Regions from separate parts of the Homo sapiens genome. Here region 1 is linked to region 2. The links are contacts of gene promoters, found by promoter capture Hi-C in human tissues and cell types (Jung and others, 2019). All regions are on one chromosome and are shown on one strand. Each heading gives the region's core, a stretch centred on a gene start or on the middle of the fragment in contact. The rest is flanking DNA. Distances are from core to core; before and after follow the strand shown.

The links. Contacts are between HindIII fragments. The study calls those that stand out against the background at their distance.
Region 1: a contact is called between a fragment that was not itself captured here and the fragment with the promoter of RBFOX2 in region 2, in 1 of the 25 tissues and cell types used here (heart right ventricle).

What each region holds. Positions count from the first base shown.
Region 1 is chr22:36,068,358-36,076,165 of GRCh38, reverse strand. No RefSeq gene overlaps it. Among named protein-coding and RNA genes, the nearest start is that of RBFOX2, 43 kb to the right of the region's middle. The HindIII fragment of the contact is 6,349 bases long and covers 1,997-7,808 here.
Region 2 is chr22:36,024,329-36,031,495 of GRCh38, reverse strand. RBFOX2 (RNA binding fox-1 homolog 2) reads left to right here and starts at 2,672. Exons shown (of 14, transcript NM_001349999.2): 1 at 2,672-3,256. The coding sequence starts at 3,071. RefSeq lists a silencer at 2,437-2,506. The HindIII fragment of the contact is 7,839 bases long and covers 1-7,167 here.

The DNA of each region.
Region 1 (7,808 bases), core at 3,922-6,421, 42 kb before region 2:
GCAGAAATGTCTCACAGGAGCAGCGGCAGTGGTAGCATTTTGCTTATCCCGCAGCAGTGGTGGGATCTTGCTTAACAGCTGTTTCTGTGGCTATCTGGGGGGAATTGATCCTGGAAGCTTTGCCTACAACCAGGTCCTCCAGCCCCTCAAAAATTCTGTGAGCTGGGCACAATGGCTCACCCTTGTAATCTCAGCACGTTGGGAGGCCAAGGCAGGAGGATCACTTGAGCCCGGGAGGTTGAGACCAGCCTGGGCAACACAGCAAGATCCCATCTCTACTGAAAATAAAAAAAAACTAGCCAGGTATGATGGTGCACGCCTCTAGTCCCAGCTTCTCGGGAGGCTGAGGTGGGAGAATTGCTTGGCCCTGCTCACACCTTTGCACTCCAGCCTGGAAGACAGAGTGAGACCCTGTTTCAAAAAAGAAACAAAATTCTGTGAGCTAACATCCTTTTCTGCTTAATCAGCCCGTAGGTACTTCTGTTCCTTGCCACAAAGAGCCCTGATTAATGAATGCTGTAATTCTCCTCGGCAGGTACCAGGTGGAAGAGCTTTCCTGGAGGGGCAGTTTTCCTCACTTGCTGGGGGATCGGAGGGGCGGGGGGAACTGCAGGCAGCCCTGGGGAATGCTGTCAAATTGCCTTCTACCCTAGCCCCAGGCCCAGGATCTTGTACCAAGTTCCTAGGGAGAGGGTGACTGACATGAAGACAACACTAAATCAGATAAAAAAAGCAATATGACTGGATGTACATGAATGACCTCTCATGATGTATGTTTCTATTTTTATTGAGACAAATTTCACAAACATAAAATTAGCCATTTCAAAATGTACTGTTCAGACGGGGCACAGTGGCTCATGTCTGTAATCCCAGCACTTTGGGAGGCCAAGGTGGGTGGATCGTTTGAGGCCAGGAGTTCGAAACCAGCCTGGCCAACATGGTGAGACCCCATCTCTACTAAAAATACAAAACTTAGCCAGGCGTGGTGGCACACACCTGTAGTCCCAGCTACTGAGGAGGCTGAAGCAGGAGGATCACTTGAACCGGGGGAGTGGAGGTTGCAGTGAGCTGAGATTGCGCCACTGCACTCCCAGCTGGATGGCAGAGTGCAATTTGTGCTCTAACATAAAATGATATCAAAAAACTCGTAGCATTCTCCACCTCATGCCAGAGACCTTGTCTCAAAATTTTTTAAAAAATGCGCTATTCAGTGGTATTTTTTCATTCACAATGTTATTTATGCAAGCATAATATCTATCTGGTTTCAAAACGTTTTCATCACCCCCAAAATAGACCCCATATCCATTGAGCGGTCACTCCCCCGTTCCCCCCTCTCCTTAGTCCCTAACAACCACTGATCTGCATTCTCTCTATATAGATTTACCTATTCTGGATATTACATATAAAGGGAATCATTTAATAAGTGACATTTTGTGTCTGAGTTCTTTCACTGAACATGTTTTCAGAATTCATCTACATTGTAGCCTGTATCAGTACATCATTCCTTTTTTTTTTTTTTTGAGACGGGGTTTCACTCTTGTTGTCCAGGCTAGAGTGCAATGGCACGATTTCAGCTCACTGCAACCTCCGCCTCCTGGGTTCAAGTGATTCTCCTGCCTCAGCCTCCCAGGTAGCTGGGATTACAAGCGCCTGCCACAACGCCTGGCTAATGTGTTGTATTTTTAGTAGAGACGGGTTTTCACCATGTTGGCCAGGCTGGTCTTGAACGCCTGACCTCAGGTGATCCACCCGCGTCCGCCTCCCAAAGTGCTGGGATTGCAGGTGTGAGCCACCACACCCAGCCCATTCCTTTATTGTTTAATTTAATTAATTTATTTTTTGAGACAGGATCTCTCTCTGTTGCCCAGGCTAGAATGCAGTGACATGATCATGGCTCACTGCAGACTCAACCTCCTGGGCTCAAGTAATTCTCCCACCTCAGCCTCCTGAGTAGCTGGGACTAAAGGCACATGCCACTACACCCAGCTAATATATATATACACACATATATATATATATATATATATATACACTTTTATATATATACACTTTTATATATATATACTTTTATATATATACACTTTTATATATATATACTTATATATATACACTTTTATATATATACTTATATATATACACTTTTATATATATACTTATATATATACACTTTTATATATATATACTTTTATATATATACTTATATATATATACTTTTATATATATACTTTTATATATATATACTTTTATATATATATACTTTTATATATTATATACTTTTATATATATACACACACTTTTTTTTTTGTAGAGGTAGGGTTTCATCATGTTGCCCAGGCTGGCCTCAAGTGATCCTTCTACCTCGGCCTCCCAAAGTGCTAGGATTACTGACATGAGCCATTGCACCAGGCCCAAAGCAGTTACTGTTTTCCATAGTAACTCCCATTTATCATTCCATTCAGTAATATGCAAGGGTTTCAACTTCTCCACATCTCACCAGTACTGGTTATTTTCTGGTTTTTGGATTATAGCCATCCTAGTGGATGGGAAGTGATATCTCATTGTGGTTTTGATTTGCATTTCCTTAATGACTAAGTATATTGAGCATCTTTTCATATGCTTATTGGCCATTTGTTTGTCTTCTTTGTTTTTGTTTTTCTGTTGTTTTTTGTTCCTTTGTTTGTTTCTTTGTTTTTTGAGACAGAGTCTTGCTCTGTCGCTCAGGCTGGAGTGCAATGGCGTGATCTTGGCTCACTGCAACCTCCACCTCCTGGGTTTCAAATGATTCTCCTGCCTCAGCCTCCCAAGTAGCTGGGACTACAGGTACATGTCACCACGCCCAGCTAGTTTTTGTATTTTTAGTAGAGATGGGGTCTCACCATGTTGGCCAGGCTGGTCTTGAACACCTGACCTCAAGTGATCCACCTGCCTCGGACTCCCAAAGTACTAGAATTACAGGCAAGAGCCATTGTGCCTGGCCTGTTTATCTTCTTTGGATATTCAACTCCTCTGCCCTTTTTTATCTATTTATTATTGTATACTGTCCAGTTTGTTATTATTATTGTTTTTAGATGGCTACAAAGACAGTGTGAGATCTCACACCTAGACTAGCTCTCTTGGTGGAAGGGCTTGGGTACAGACAGACAGCAGGGCTTCTGATTTTCTTAATTTTTTTTTTTTTTTTTTGAGATGGTGTCTCGCTCTCTCACCCAGGCTGGAATGCAGTGGCACGATCTGGGCTCACTACAACCTCTGCCTCCCAGGTTCAAGCGATTCTCCTGCCTCAGCATGCTAAGTAGCTGGGACTACAGGCGCCTGCCACCATGCCTGGCTCTTTTTTTGTATTTTTAGTAGAGACAGGGTTTCACCATGTTGGCCAGGATGGTCTCAATCTCCTGACCTCGTGATCTGCCCACCTCGGCCTTCCAAAATGCTGGGATTACAGGCATGGGCCACCATGCCTGGCCTCTTGTTTTCTTTATTTTTCTTCCCCACCCCCCCACTTTTTTTTTTTTTTTTCTTAAACAGAATCTCACTCTGTCATCCAGGCTGGAGCACGGTGACGCGATCACAGCTCACTGGAGCCTTGACCTCCCCAGGCTCAGGTGATCCACCCACCTCAGCCTCCCTAGTAGCTGGGACCACAGGTGTGCACCACCACACCCGGCTAATTTTTGTATTTTTGTTGTAGAGACAGGGTTTCACCATGTTGCCCAGGCTGGTCTCAAACTCCGGGGGTCAAGTGATCTGTCCACTTCAGCCTCCCAAAATGCTGGGATTACAGGTGTGAGCCACTGCACCTGGCCTCCTTTTTTTTTTTTTTTTTTTTAAAAAAAGCACAGAGATTGATTGGGATGGTGTAGGAGGCTTGCTAGAAGCTTTTATTTTAAAAAATTTCCCCCAAACCCTCCTTCTAAAAACAAATTTATAGGCCAGATGTGGTGGCTCATGCCTGTAATCCCAGCACTTTGGGATGACGAGGCGGGTGGATCCCCTGAGGTCAGCAGTTCGAGACCAGCCTGGCTAACATGGTGAAACGTGTCTCTACTAAAAATACAAAAATCAAACGAGCATGGTGGAACATGCCTGTAATCCCAGCTACTTGGGAGGCTGAGACAAGAGAATTGCTTGAACCCAGGAGTCAGAGGTTGCAGTGAGCCGAGATCATGCTTCTGCACTCCAGCCTGGGCAACAGAACAAGACTTTTTCTCAAAAAAAAAAAAAAATTATTATCCCTATTATACATGTAGGCCAATGTGCCAGGCAGTGGTCAGATGAGTAAACGGAGGCTCAGAGAAGTTAAGCTCTTGTTCAAAGGCAGGTGGCTATTAAGTTGTGGAGGGTAAGACTGGAACACAAACTCATACTTTTCCACTCTTCTATAGGGCCTCAGCTCTTTTCATGGCCAATAAAGTTTTAAACTTCTTTGGGAGGAGGTGTTTTTTCCAGCTCCAGTGTGGCAGGGTATCAGGCAAAAATGCTTTCATGACTGGGCATGGTGGCTCCACGCCTGTAATCCCCACACTTTGGGAGGTAAAGGCAGGATTGCTTCAGGCCAGGAGTTTCAGACCAGCCTGAGCAACAGAGCAAGACCCCCATCTGTACAAAAATAAAAAAATAAAAATTAGTCAGCTGGGTGGTGTGCATAGGTAGTCCTAGCTACTTGGGAGACTGAGGCAGGAGGATCACTTGAGCCCAGGAGTTTGAGACTGAATTGAGCTATGTTCATGCCTGGGCCACAGAGCAAGACCCTGTCTCTAAAAAGAAAAAAACTTTAAACGGCCGGCATAGTGACTCACATCTGTAATTCCAGCACTTTGGGAGGCCAAGGCAGATGAATCACTTGAGGCCAGGAGTTTGAGACCAGCCTGGCCAACATGGCAAAACCCCATCTCTACTAAAATTACAAAAATCAGCCGGGTGTGGTGGCGCATGCCTGTAATTCCCGCTACGTTGGAGGCTGAGGCACCAGAATTGTTTGAAACCCAGGAGATGGAGCTTGTAGTGAGCCATCATGCCACTGCACTCCAACCTGGGTGACAGAGTGAGACTCTGTCTCAAAAAATAATGATAATAAAACAAAGATGCCTTCAGCTACAAATAACAGACTGTCAAATTGCTAAGCTGTCTAAACAATAAAAATAGTTACCTCATTTAACAAGAAAGCTGGAAGTAGGCAGTTCCATTGCTAAGCCTTAGCTGCTCTACTAATCATGAAGAACCCATGTTCTTCCATCCTTTCATTCTGCCATGCAGAGTATGATACCTTTCATCTTCAGACTTGTCACCTCATAGTTGCAGTATGGCTGCCACAGTTCCAGCCATCACATTCTTTTTTAAATTTTTTTGAGACAGAGTCTCACTCTGTCATCCAGGCTGGAGTACAGTGGCGTCACCTTGGCTCACTGCAACCTCTGCCTCCCAGGCTCAAGCAATTCTCCTGCCTCAGCCTCCTGAGTAGCTAGGACTACAAGTGCCCGCCACCACACCCAGCTAATTTTTGTATTTTTAGTAGGAACAGGGTTTTGTCATGTTGACCAGGCTGGTCGTGAACTCCTGACTTCAAGTGATCCACCTGCCTTGGCCTCCCAAAGTTCTGGAAATACAGGCGTGAGCCACCATGCCCAGGCAAGCCATTACATTCTTTTTTTTTTTTTTTTTTTTTTCTGAGACAGAGTCTCGCTCTGTCGCCCAGGCTGAAGTGCAGTGGCACGATGTCGGCTCACTGCAACCTCCACCTCACGGATTCACGCCATTTTCCCACCTCAGCCTCCCGAGTAACTGGGACTACAGGCGCCCGCCACCACACCCAGCTAAATTTTTTTGTATTTTTAGTAGAGACGGGGTTTCACCATGTTAGCCAGGATGGTCTCGATCTCCTGACCTAGTGATCCACCCACCTCGGCCTCCGAAAGTGCTGGGATTACAGGTGTGAGTCACCACGCTCAGCCGCCATTACATTCTTATACAATTGTCTCCAAAGCCAGGAAGAAAAGGAGTAGTCAGAACAACAAGAAAAGTTAACTTTCCTCACTCTAGCTTTCTTGCTCCCTCCCTCACTCTTACTCTCTCTCCCACTGTTTTGTGTGTGTGTGTGTGTGTGTGTGTGTGTGTGTGTGTGTGTGTGTGTTTTGAGGCGGAGTCTCACTCTGTTGCCCAGGCTGGAGTGCAGTGGCATGATCAGCACACTGCAATCTCCGCCTCCTGGGTTCAAGTGATTCACGTGCCTCAGCCTCCCAAATAGCTGGGATTACAGGCCCACACCACCACACCCAGCTAATTTTTGTATTTTTAGTAGAGACAAGGTTTCATCATGTGGCCAGGCTGGTCTCGAACTCCTGACCTCAGGTGATCCACCTGCCTTGGCCTCCCAAAGTGTTGGGATTACAGGTGTGAACCACTGCGCCCAGCTTCCCGCTCTTTCCATCTACCTCACCCTCTCTCTCTATTCTGGCCAGGAGAGAAAATCTTTCTCAGAAGACTCTCCTTATATGTCATTGACCAGAACACGGTCACATGGTCACCTGTAACTGTAAAGGGAACCTGGGAAACCGAGCATCTGGCATTTTCCGCCTCTATGGTAGTCAGTAAACCTTGCTAGCCAGGAAGAAGGAGGGGAGTGGCTGGTGGCTAGGACCGTGGGAGTCCAGTGGGGCAGCAGCAGTGACATGGCCCTGAGGCAGTGACACAGGCAGCATCGTCGGTCTGGAGGAGAAACACGGACACAGCGTCTGGGAGCCTCCTAGTGAGTTCTGGACTGACCAAAGGACATGGGACAAATGCCAGGAGAAAGAAGAAGTCTGTTTTTGGTAGCTAAGGAGCACATGTGAGGGTCTCTGGGAGCAATAAAGGTAAATGGTGGGTCTGAGAGGGAAATTTTCAATAATTTTGCTAGAGACCAGTATAGCACAGTCATTAAAGCTGGATAGCACAGCTTTGGAAGCAGACAGCCCAGGTCTTAAATTCTGACACCCACTGACCAGCCGTGGAACACTGGGGCAATCATTTCACCTTTCCAGGCCTCAGTTCCTCTTTTGTAAATGAGCTAATAGCCATCCCTCCTTCACGAGGCTACTGTGAGGATTAAGTTACTTAATACAAGTAAAGCACAATACCTGCCATCTGCTATTCTCTTACTGTAAGGACTATAGTCATCCTGGTGGATGTGAAGTGAGTCCCGTGTGGTTCTGATTTGCCTTTTCCTTGATGACTAATTATGTCGAGCATCTTTTGTGCTTGAAAGTATTGTTTGCTTATTGGCCATTTGTTTATCTTCTTTGGATATTCAAGTCCTTTGCCTATTTTATTTTATTTTTTATTTTGAGACAGAGTCTCACTCTTGTCGCCCAGGCTGGAGTGCAATGGCGAGATCTCAGCTCACTGCAACCTCCATCTCCTGGGTTCAAGCGATTCTCCTGCCTCAGCCTCCCAAGTAGCTGGGATTACAGACTCTCACCACCACGTCCGGCTCAATTTTGTACTTTTAGTAGAGACGGAGTTTCGCCATGTTGGCCAGGCTGGTCTCAAACTCCTGACCTCAGGTGATCCACCCGCCTCGGCCTCCCTAAGTGCTGGGATTATAGGTGTGAGCCACTGTGCCTGGCCTACCTTTGCCCATTTTTAAATTGATCTGTTTTCTACTTGTTGTTGCAATAAGAGCTCTTTATATATTCTGGATACAAGGCCCTAATCAGATATATTATCTGATTATTTGCAAATGTTTTGTAGCAACGATTGTGCTATTACTATGGTTTGGTCAGTGTTATTGTGGCTCTGTCCTTCTGGTCCACGCAGAAGTAGATGTAGGCTGT
Region 2 (7,167 bases), core at 1,423-3,922:
TCTCTAGCAGCCCCACTCAAGTCACCTTACATAATTAAAAAAAACCCAATAATAATGATAATGATATTCTTTGATCTTGACAATGAATGTTTTTTCACTCTCATTTAAAATGTGAATAAAGGTCAGGCCTGGTGGTTCATGCCTGTAATCCCAGTACTTCGGGAGGCCAAAGGGGGGGAATCACTTGAGGTCAGGAGTTCGAGACCAGCCTGGCCAACATGGTGAAACCCTGTCTCTACTAAAAATACAAAAAATTAGCCGGGCGTGGTGGTGGGCGCCTGTAATCACAGCTCCTTGGGAAGTTGAGGCACAAGAATTGCTTGAACCCAGGAGGTGGAGGTTGCAGTGAGCCGAGATCACACCACTGCACTCCAGTCTGGGTGACAGAGCGAGACTCCATCTGAAAAAAAAAAAGTGAATAAAGTGATAATGGTACTACTAATAAGCTATTATTAGTTAGCTATAAGTGTTAGCTGTAACACTTATGGAGCGCTTATCCTAAATCATTCCGTTCAAAGTTCTAAACGTGATAACATTAAATTCTTACAATAATCTTTTCAGGAAGGTATTATTGTTATCCTAATTTGCAGATGAAGAAACTGAGACACAGAGGGGGTAAGTAGCTGTCACAAGGCATCATGACTTGCAGGTGGCAGAGCTAAAACTCTGCTATTTTTACTGATTTATAACACAGCCTAAGTAATACAAACAATATGCTCAATACAACAACTCACCTTCAAGGCAAGTCCTCCCGACTTCCCTTCCAACCAGTCTGCAATCCCCAAACACCTTTTATATGGAAGTTCTTAGTCACCACTGGTCCCAGATTACGTGGGCAGGAGGTGGGAAGCCTGCGTTCTCATCTGGGTTGGTCTGACTCTGAAGCAGGGATCTTTACTGTTGTACTGTTCCAGCCCCAGCCAGGTTAAACCCAGGTTCAAAGGCCAAATCACACACTGGTTGGAAATGACCTTGGAAATCATCTAACCCAGCGTTTCTCAACCTCCGCACTATTGACATTTGGGGTTGGATAACTCTCCTGGGGGGACCGTCCTGTGCATGATAGGATGTCAAGCAACATTCCTGGCTTCTACACACTAGATGCCAGCAGCACCTCCCCACTGTAACAATCAAAAATGCCTTCAGTCGGCCAGGCGCGGCAGCTAACTCCTGTAATCTCAGCACTTTGGGAGGCCGAGGCAGGCGGATCACCTGAAGTCAGGAGTTCGAGACCAGCCTGGCCAACATGGTGAAACCCCATCTCTACTAAAAATACAAAAATTAGTTGGTGGCGCACACCTGTAGTCCCAGCTACTGGGGAGGCTGAGGCAGGAGAATCGCTTGAACCCAGGAGGCAGAGGTTGCAGTCAGCCGAGATCGCGCCACTGCACTTAAGCCTGGGCGACAGAGCGAGACTCTGTCTCAAAAAAAAAAAAAAAAAAAAAAAAAAAAATGCCTTCAGTCACTGACAAATGTGGGAGTGGAGGTGGTGGAATGGCAAAATTTCTCCTTGGTTGAAAGCCACTGATCCAAACCATCTCATTTTACAAATGATGGAGCTGAGGTCCAAAGAGATGAAGTAACTTGTTTAAGCTAGTTAGCAAAGCCAAGATTAGAATCCAGGTTATTCACGCAATATCCTTTTATTTCTATAACGTACAGGGCACGATATGGAACTCAGAGGAAGTCACTGCAGTCCTTGTCCTCACAGTCTGGTAGGGGAGAGAATCTATTGCACAGATATCTCTATCTCCACGAAGTTGGTAAGTCATAAAGTGCTCCTCAGGCAGCAAGGTACGAAGAAAGAGAATATGTTCTCGTGTTCTGAATTCCGGATCTGCCACTTTTTTGCTGCAGGATTTAACTAAGGTTCAGTTTCATCATCAATGAAATGGAGATCATGGTATCTACTTATATCACCAGTTTGAAACGGGTCTGTGGATGCATTGTGCAAACTCTAAAGCTCTTACAAACATCGGGTATTATTACTAACTTCATTAGGAATGTGAGTTATATTAGAGTAAAAGCTCTCAGAACTGGGGTGAACCATAGAGGGGTGGCTTCATTCCTCGACCTTCCAATTTGAGACATTTTTTCTTCTGCGGGAGGGGAAGCAGGCAAATAGCCTGCCTCTCACAGAGTGCCCATTCCCTCTCCGGGAACCAAGGTGCTCAGGCGAGTAAACTCAGGACTTAACTCTGTACAACTAGTACCGCAAGCAGGAGCCACTCCCTGGCCTTCGGGTCTCTCAAGCCCCGCCTGCTCCAGGATACGGCCCCGCCCAGAAAGGAGACAGACCCCGCCCCCCCCGCGCTGCCCCGCACTCCAGCCGCGCTGTGCCTCCAGGACAATCCCAGGCCCGTGCCGGAGATTCCCGAGCTTCCCCGATCGCTTCCCGGCCTCCCTCGGGCAGCCAGCGAGGAGACTACGGAGATTGCCGAGGGGGCCTGGCCCCGCCCCCCCCGCGGGCCGCCACCGCCCCCCTCGCCGTAGCCTCCCGCGCGGGCTGGAGTTCTACATCCCGGTCCCTCCCTCCCTCCCTCTTTCTCTCTCCCCGCCTTCCCGGTGCTGCCACAGTGGCGGGTCGGAGGATCCCGGCCAGTCAGCTCGTTCCTGCCTCGCGCCCCTCCTCCCCCCAAAATAAACAGCCCTCCCCACGCCTCGGGAGCCCGGACCGCCCCCTTCCTCCCTCGGCCGGCGTGCTGTGAGGGAGAGTGTGAGCCAGCGCGGCCGGTGGGCGAGCTCCGGGAGTGCGAGAGGCGGGGCGGCGCGGCGGGCCGGGCCGGGTTTCGCGTGTGCGTGCGGGGGCGCGAGCGAGTGCTCATCACGACCCGCCAGTGGCCCCGCGCCGACAACCCGGCGGGCGGGCGGGCGGGGAGCAAGCGGTCAGGCAAGGAGCGGCGGCCGCGAGGCGCGGAGGGGCGCGGAGTCCGCTCGCGCGCACGCACGCACGCACGCGGGGGCGGGGGCAGGCGCGCGCCCGCCTGTCGCGACAGTCGGGGCCGAGGCCCAGGGGGAGGTGGCCTGTCGCGGGTCGCCCGGCTCCCGGAGGCGAGGGGGGCGCGGGCGGATGGCGGAGGGCGCCCAGCCGCATCAGCCGCCTCAGCTCGGGCCCGGCGCCGCCGCCCGGGGCATGAAGCGGGAGTCGGAGCTGGAGCTGCCGGTGCCCGGAGCGGGAGGAGACGGAGCCGATCCCGGCCTGAGCAAGCGGCCGCGCACTGAGGAGGCGGCGGCCGACGGTGGCGGCGGGATGCAGGTGACCGCGCGGGACGGGGCGCCCAGTTATTGCGGGGGTGGGCGTGAGGGTCGACACCGGGCTCCCCGGCTTGGAGAGAGGGAGGGCCTCCGGGAGTCCTGGGTTGGAGGTGGGATGGGGGGCCATTCGGGGCCTGGTTGGAAGGTGGGGCGAGCTCGGGCTAGGAACGAAGGTTGCAGGACTGAACCTGGTGTGCCCGAGAGGGTCCTGATTCCTGAGGGGCCAGGAGGCACGACGAGTGGATAGGTTTTGGGGGGAAATCGAACAAGGTTGAGATGGATTCCATTTTTTCAAATCCTTCCTTAGTGCCTTGGGGTGGAGTGGAAGCCGGGAAATCCTGGCTTCTCTGGACTGAGTCGAGGAAAAGGAGATCTGGTGGGAAACCTCCCGAGAAGAGGGAGTACCTTTTGGCAGCCCTGGGCACACGCTGGGATGGGGAAGAGAAGTGGCATTTCAATGAGAGGAGTGAAAAGAAAACTCCTCGAGAGAGCCCCGAGGGGATGTGGCTGAGATTGTGGGTTAAATCACACAGAGTGTGAGAAGTACAAGGAGTTTGGTAATGTTATGGGGACACGGTGGTGCTCAGTCTCATTTACTTTGTGGAGCATACTAATGAGTCTGAAGGGAGACACTAGACATGTCCCTCCTGTTCTTTGCCAATTGCATTCTACATCACCAGGACACAAAATAGCTCTTTAATGTCCCGGGCTATAAAAAAAATTTTTTTATAGGGCTATTAGAAGACTGGATTCTCAATTCTGGATTGAAAGATAAACGTGGTTAATTTGGGTAGGGAATGGGAAAGGTATTGATGTCAGCTGACTTCATAGTTTTGAAGAAGACCTTGAAACCTTTGGAGGTTTTACGATTTGGTCTTTGCCCAGAAAATACTGCTATGACATGATGAGTCTCACCTACCAACAGTTGTGCAGACTTGTGCCTAATTCTCTCGGAGTCATAGGATGTTAGAGGGATGCTAGGAGGACTAGACATCATCTTTTCCAGGGGTTCTTAACCTGGGAAGACTTGGAAGATTCTTACTCATAGTAGGTGATGTGCACTTTTTGGTGGAGGAGAGTCAATAGTTTTCATCTTTGTTTTTTTTGGAGGAGATTCAAGTCCCAGCTTGTTTTAACCACCTTATTTTATAGATGGGGAATCAGAAGTCCAGAGAAGATGGTGACTTGGGTAAGGCCACCCAGTTAGCTAATAGTAAAACTAGAACTAGAAGCCTGGTCTTCTAATTCCTATTCCTGTGCTGTCTCCATTACACCACTCTTGGAAATCTCTGCAGTGCTAAAAGACTTCCTGTGCTCTGCTCCCTGCTTTTCAAGCCTCTGCCTGACTTCCTGTGTTAGGGACAGAGCTGTACTTAAGCCTAGCATGTTTGTTGTATGCTTCTTGGTCTCCTTTGCAGAGTTTACCCTGTTACTTCTGTTGATTTAGGTAAAGTGACCCTCTTGGTGTTTATTTTTGAATTCTTTTGTTTTGTTTGCCTGCTTTTATTTTCCATTAGAACTCTGTCAGGCAGAGGGATTGTGAGAAGTAAAAGCTCAGGGCCATGGCAAAAAAGACAGGAATGTGGGAGACTTCAGGTGAGGTGAGCTAATATTGGATGATAAGGAGGGAAGACTGGATGTAGGTGCTGGTGAGCAGGTTCTACTTGGTGTGTGTGTGTGTGTGTGTGTGTGTGTGTGTATGTATTCATTTATCATTTCTGTCAATCCTAGTTAATAGTGAGACCCCCGTCCCTTTCCCTCATTTACTCCTGGGGCCTATTATCTGTTGGTTGCCTTCAAACTGGCTAAAGATAGTGATATTTGGAAATGGAGCAGTGTGTAGGGACTTCGCAGGGGTGTGCAGAGGAAAGAGTGGTTAGGTCCTTGGGGGTACAAATTGGCAGCTGAGAGTTATCCCTCCGAGAATCCTTTTTTCACTTCTTGTATTTTATTTTCTTTCTATACATTCTCTTTTTTTTTTTTTTGCCCAGGCTGGAGTGCAATGGCACGATCTCGGCTCACTGCAACCTCCACCTCCACCTCCACCTCTGGGTTCAAGGGATTCTCCTGCCTCAGCTTCCTGAGTAGATGGGATTACAGGCGTCTGCCACCATGCCCAGCTAATTTTTCTTATTTTTAGTAGAGAGGGGGTTTCACCAGGTTGGCCAGGCTGGTCTCGAACTCCTGACCTCAGGTGATTCACCCACCTCAGCCTCCCAAAATGTTGGGATTACAGGTGTGAGCCACCACACCCGGCCTTCTATACATTCCCATTGTTGTAGGTCCATTCCCCTATGTCATACAGGTATTCAAATCATTGATTTAGGCCCTGCCTTCAACTAGCTGAATGGTTCTGCAGAAATCTTTCATTTTGGGGCCTCTGTTTTCCTTAGTTGTAAAATAAAGTATGTGTACAAGATGATTTCCCTTGTAATCCACCCACCTCGGCCTCCCAAAGTGCTGGGATTACAGGTGTGAGGCACCGCACCCGGCCAAGTTCTAAGTTACCTTCTAAAAGTTATAAGTCCAGTTCACTGTCCTTAAGGTGCATGCAATCTATGTGGGGAGACAAATGGGCGAAAAGTTTTTTTTAAAGAAGCGTGCATTTTTAAAGAAGTGTGAGAGTATTACATGAATATACTTAATGTTTATTCATTGAACTAACATTTATTAAGCAGCTGCTACATCCCAGGCACTGTTTTAACCCTAAGAGATATAATAGTGAACAACAACAACAAAAAACCCTTGCTGTCATGGAACTAATATTGAATGGAAAGAGACATCTAATAAATCAACAACTATAATTGTGTGGTGATAAGGGCTAAAAAGAAAAAGCAGGGAAAGGGAGAGATGGAAAGGGAGAGAATGAAGATGGTTACGGAAGGGCTTTAAGATAGATGGCCTATGAGTGAAGTGAGGTAATGGGCCATTCAGATGCTTTCGGAAAGAGGGTTCAGGTAGAGGAGGTGAGGGTGCACAGGCATTGAGAAAGACTGCTTGGTTTGTTTGGAAACAGGAGACCAATGTATTAATAGCTGGAGCAGAGAGAGCAAGGGCAGGTAGTCTTAGGAGATGGTATCAGTGGTTTAGAAATATCTATAGGCCCTATGTAAATACACACTTTAAAAATCTTAGCCGGGCGCAGTGGCTCACGCCTGTAATCCCAGCACTTTGGGAGACTGAGGCGGGTGGATCGCCTGAGATCAGGAGTTCGAGACCAGCCTGGCCAACATAGTGAAACCCGTCTCTACTAAAAATACAAAAAATTAGCCAGGCGTGGTGGCAGGCGCCTGTAATCCCAGCTACTAGGGAGGCTGAGGCAGGAGAATCACTTGAACTCGGGAGGCGGAGGTTGCAGTTAGCTGAGGTTGCGCCATTGCACTCCAGGCTGGGCAACAAGAGCGAAAATCTGTCTCAAAAAAATAAAAAAAATCTTATCGTAGCCAGTGTTTTGGGTATGTGGGTTTGTCTTAAAGTACACGTCTTTTTTTTCTTTTTTTTTGAGATGGAGTCTCACTGTTGCCCAGGCTGGAGTGCAGTGGCTTGATCTCAGCTCACTGCAACCTCTGCCTCCTGGGTTCAAGCAATTCTTATGCCTCAGCCTCCTGAGTAGCTGGGATTACAGGCATGTGCCACCACACCCCGCTAATTTTTGTATTTATAGTAGAGATGAGGTTTCACCATGTTGGCCAGGCTGGTCTCGAACTCCTGACCTCAGGTGATCGCCTGCGTTGGCCTCCCAAAGTGCTGAGATTACAGGCATGAGCCACTGCACCTGGCCTGTTTTCTTAACACGTTTTCTAACTCCTTTTGTGAAGCCTTCCCTGACAGCTTAGTTCACACCATTCCGATCCTACTCTTGCCTCTTGGTATATTGATGCTTAATTGTGTGTCATCTTTTATTGTCCCTTA